2 separate regions of the Homo sapiens genome follow, and region 2 is linked to region 1. The links are contacts of gene promoters, found by promoter capture Hi-C in human tissues and cell types (Jung and others, 2019). All regions are on one chromosome and are shown on one strand. Each heading gives the region's core, a stretch centred on a gene start or on the middle of the fragment in contact. The rest is flanking DNA. Distances are from core to core; before and after follow the strand shown.

Region 1 (2,553 bases), core at 32-2,531:
TGTATCCATTTATCCCACATTTACCAATAAGAGACCTCCAAATGTCAGATGATGGGAGTAGATAGGGCTAATCCCTGCCCTGCACGGGCTAGCAGGATAGACAGTAAAGGAAAAGGGCAGTCCTATCAGGTGGACACAGAAGAAAAAAGGGACTGAAGGGACCTGGTAAGTGATATCCAGGGACTTTCAGAGCCAAGGGAGCAGCATGTGCAAAGGCCTTTAAATTTCTCTCTTGGGAGCCTACCTGCTGCCACGAGCCGAGAAGGGCAGCCTAAGAGGTTTGGATGCAGGAAGTTTTGGTCCTGGGGAGGGGAAGTTGGGAAGTAGGGGCGCTGGGGCAAGCATGTTGAGAAACAGATTGGCACCGTAGTCCACCAAATGTTTGCTGCCCCCTTGTGGTCTCAGGGAGTGCTCTGGCTCCAGACCCTTTTTCCAACGGCCCATTGGCCGCCCCGCCTTTGCGACCTCTCCGGCACCTCAAATTCAGCGTGTCCAAACCGATCTGAAACCTGGGAGTCACCCTAGATCGGAATTTCCTACTTCTCCGTCCAAACAGTGGCCAACTCGTCACTGAACCTACTAGTATCTCCCAACTTAATCTTTTTTCCATTCCCACCGCGATTTCTCTGGTTCATTAATGTAACAAATCATTTAACAAATATTGAGCGCCGGTCATACGCCAGGCACCATACTAGGCTCCGTGGGCACCCCCGCCCCCTCAGCCCCCAGACTCCGCGGCAGGTGTCGTCAGGGGCTGTGGCCCGATTTCCCCACCACTCCCTCCTCGGCTCCCTGCACAAGATCTGGTTCGACTGGCCCCTGGAAAACCCGGAAAACCCCCGTGGTCCGCCAGCGCCCACAGGATGAGGTCGAAGCTCAGAAGTCGGTAACTAAGGCTCTCGCCCATGCAACAGCAGCCACTACAAACTGAAGCCTTTGTTCGCACCCACGGTGAAACCCACAGCTCCCCGTTTGCTCAACAGCTAACGCCAGCCCTCCCATCTTCTAAGGGCCAGATCCCCCTCCTTCAGACGCAGGACTTCCCCGACGGCCGCTCCTTTCTACCGCAGGGAACTGTCCTGCCTCCCTCCGGGGCGTAACAGCGGAGGCTGCGCTCGTGTTCCCATCCCCGCTGGGACTGGTCCGGGGCGCTCTGGCCAGCGGGTTGTTTCCGCGGCGGAGATGCCTCGGGGCCCGTCCCTCACGCCCCGCCCCTCACGCCCCGCCCCCTCGGGGCGTGCGCGGCCCCGCGGCCTTAGTGCGCTCCGGGCCCGCGCGCCATCTTGGCTCCGGATCGTGCGTGAGGCGGCTTCGGTGAGAGCCGGAACCGGGCGGGCAGAGGGGCGCTCGTAGGGTTGGGGGACGCCTGTGGCTTGGCTGCAGCGGCCGGCAAGACCCTGGAAGAGACCGTGGCTATGGAAACGGCCAAGGCTGTCTTGGAATGTCCTGAGCAGCCCTCCGAGTCGAGCCTCTGCCCCCGAGTTTCTGAGTGACCTGGGTTGATATAGATTGACCTTGGTAATCTCTGGGAGAGGGGATCCGTTCTGTTTGGGGGCAGCACTGGATAAGGGTTCTTGGCTGTTTCCCGGGGGGCCTGGGGCGAAGGGCCTTGTCCCTGTCCTTGTAGAGCCCCAAGTGAGGAGCGCTCTCTATTGGTATTAGTCTGGGGTGAGGGTTCCAGGCCCTGTTCCAAGGAGCCCAGGATAAGGGGGGCTAAGCCCCAGTCCTGGAGAGTTTAGGATGAGGGGGCCTGGCACTTTCCCAAAGAGCTCAGTGTTTGGGGAATGTGATCCTGCCTCTTGGACTCCAGGATTGGAGGTGGGGGTGTTATGGCCCTTGTAGAGGAACGGGGTGTATGGGGTACAGCCCTTTCCCAGACTGCGGCAGGCATGGACCTTGTCACGAGATGCTAAGGACAAGGGGACATGATCCTGTTTCTGGGAAGTCTGGAACGGGGAGCAGGGCCATATCCTGGATGGAGATAGGGGATGGTGGACAGTGACTTGGGGCACATTGCTTAGCACTTACCTGATGCTTCCCTGCAGTGGGCAGCGAGAGTCACAGACAAGACAGCAAGCAGGATGGAGCACTACCGGAAAGCTGGCTCTGTAGAGCTCCCAGCGCCTTCCCCAATGCCCCAGCTACCTCCTGATACCCTTGAGATGCGGGTCCGAGATGGCAGCAAAATTCGCAACCTGCTGGGGTTGGCTCTGGGTCGGTTGGAGGGCGGCAGTGCTCGGCATGTAGTGTTCTCAGGTTCTGGCAGGGCTGCAGGAAAGGCTGTCAGCTGCGCTGAGATTGTCAAGCGGCGGGTCCCAGGCCTGCACCAGCTCACCAAGCTACGTTTCCTTCAGACTGAGGACAGCTGGGTCCCAGCCTCACCTGACACAGGGCTAGACCCCCTCACAGTGCGCCGCCATGTGCCTGCAGTGTGGGTGCTGCTCAGCCGGGACCCCCTGGACCCCAATGAGTGTGGTTACCAACCCCCAGGAGCACCCCCTGGCCTGGGTTCCATGCCCAGCTCCAGCTGTGGCCCTCGTTCCCGAAGAAGGG
Region 2 (2,553 bases), core at 27-2,526, 710 kb after region 1:
GAAAGGCTCACTTGAGCCCAGGAGGTCGAGGCTGCAGTGACCTGTGATCACACCGCTGCACACCAGTCTGGGTGACGGGAAGACACTGTCTCAAAGACAAGAGACAGAGACACAGACAGAAACAGAGAGAGAGAGAGAGACAGAGACAGAGAGAGAGAGGAGTTGCCCATGAAGACATGACTATTAAATATAATGTGATGAGCAGGGCACAGTGGCTCATGCCTATAATCCCAGCGCTTTGGGAGGCCAAGTGGGGAGGACTGCTTGAGGCCAGGAGTTTGAGACCAGCTGGGCAACTTAGTGAGACCCCATCTCTACAAAAAATTTAAATACATATATGTATACACGTACATATATAGATATATATTTATATGTATGAAATATTTTGGAGCAAAACAACGACAGGTAAAAACAAAGGAAATGTGAAAGCGTATGGACTTCAGTTACTTATAATGAATTAACATTGTTTATTAACTGCAACCAATGAATGACACTAATGTTAGGTGGTAATAAAGAACCAGAGTAGAACTAGGATAAGTTAAGAGTAGGGATTCAGGCTTGAAAATCTATTCCTAAGTGAACATAGGGAAATGAGAATCATATACATTATTGTTTAGTAAATACAGCTCTTCAAAATGACGCATACATATTTCTTAAAGCTCTAGCTAAAGACAAAGAAACTGAATATAAGAAAGATGATTTTTTACATGTTAAAAGACAATACATAATTTTATTTTACTAGGAGCAAAGACAATAAGGAGATTAAGAATAACTCCAAAACCAGATTCCTCCTTACCTCACATTCTGAGTAGGATTCCACCTTTCAGAAGGCAGTTCTCCACTCTGTGGGTCATCTACAGGCGGATGAAGAATCGAAATGCATACATCTCCATTCTACAAGACACAAACATTACATTCAGTAAATACTCAAAAAGTGATGTACAAAAAGGGACATCGGTTCTAAAGTTTCCTTTATTCCTAGAAACTGTTTCTTCATCAAAGGAGAAAACAATTCTGCTTTTTATGTTCAACATCAAAGATAAATAATAATTAAGCATTTTAAAAGTATTTATTTTGACCAATCTCCAAGGTATATTTTCTAGTGAGAAGACTTACTATTCCTATAGAACAATCCTGATGAAACAAACGATCCCTATGTTTACTTAGGAACATTAAAATATAATATTTATTTCGACCAATCTCCAAGGTATATTTTCTAGTGAGAAGACTTACTATTCCTATAGTACAATCCTGATAAAAAATTGACTGGGGCTGGGCGCGGTGTCTCACGCCTGTAATCCTAGCACTTGGGAGGCCAAGGCGGGTGGACCACCTGAGGTCAGGAGTTTGAGACCAGCATGGCGAAACCCCATCTCTACCAAAAATACAAAAATTGGCTGGGCGCGGTGGCTCACGCCTGTAATCCCAGCACTTTGGGAGACCAAGGTGGGCAGATCACAAGGTCAGGAGTTCGAGACCAGCCTGAACAACATGGTGAAACCCCGTCTCTACTAAAAATACAAAAATTAGCCGGGCGTGGTAGCACTCCCCTGTAATCCCAGCTACTCAGGAGGCTGGGGCAGGAGAATCGCTTGAACCTGGGAGGTGGGGGTTGCAGGGAGCCAAGATCGCGCCAATGCACTCCATCCTGGGCAACAGAGGGAGACTCCGTCTCAAAAAAACAAAAACAAAAGACAAAAATTAGCCGGGCGTGGTGGCACGCGCCTGTAATCCCAGCTACTCAGGAGGCTGAGGCAGGAGAATCGCTTGAACCCGGGAGGCGGAGGTTGCAGTGAGCCAAGATAGTGCTCCGGCCTGGGCAACACAATGAGACTCCATCTTAAAAAAAAAAAGACAAACATAATAAATCAAGACTCAATTGTCTTAGAAGCAGCCAAATATATATCCCTTTGTTTTCAGATATATCTGTGTACCTAGAGTACATAAAAAGGAAGAAAAAATATCTAACCTTGCTTAATATCTACTCAGATAGATGCTATGTCAATAACCATGACTTATATAAACCAAAAATATGCCTCGCAGCAAATGTTAACATCCTCAAGGTATGGTTAGAATGACTTCCCACTATGGCTATTATATTTTGCTTCATAAACTTAACACAACTTAATCCACAAGTACATTTAGGTTAATTCATACACATATGGATTGCCCACCATGTGCAATACAGAACACAATTCAATAGAAAAGATAAAGTTAGGTAAAATACAGTGACTTATCTCTTGGACTTAGCCTAACATGGAAGGTAAGATTTATTTATTTATTTAACTTCTTTCTGTCTTTAGAGATGGGAGTCTCACTATGTTACCTAGGCTGTAGTGCAGTGATTATGCATAAGACAACCATGGTGCACTGCAGCCACTAACTCCTGGCCTCAAGTGATCCTCACACCTCAGTAGTCCCATAGCTGGGACTCTAGGGTGTGCTACCACACACGACTTAAGATTTATATTTTTAAAAAACTGGAGGTATAACTATATAAAGTGCAAAAATCTTACATATACAACCCAAATTTAGACACATAGAAACTATATG

Evidence for each region. Contacts are between HindIII fragments. The study calls those that stand out against the background at their distance.
Region 2: a contact is called between a fragment that was not itself captured here and the fragment with the promoter of RPP25L in region 1, in 1 of the 25 tissues and cell types used here (pancreas).

What each region holds. Positions count from the first base shown.
Region 1 is chr9:34,610,825-34,613,377 of GRCh38, reverse strand. RPP25L (ribonuclease P/MRP subunit p25 like) reads left to right here and starts at 1,281. Exons shown (of 2, transcript NM_148178.3): 1 at 1,281-1,314; 2 at 2,046-2,553. The coding sequence starts at 2,082. RefSeq lists enhancers at 480-529, 657-706, 1,810-2,363 and a silencer at 1,107-1,346. The HindIII fragment of the contact is 7,953 bases long and covers 1-2,553 here.
Region 2 is chr9:33,898,515-33,901,067 of GRCh38, reverse strand. UBE2R2 (ubiquitin conjugating enzyme E2 R2) reads right to left here. Exons shown (of 5, transcript NM_017811.4): 3 at 797-894. Among named protein-coding and RNA genes, the nearest start is that of SNORD121B, 35 kb to the left of the region's middle. The HindIII fragment of the contact is 5,505 bases long and covers 1-2,553 here.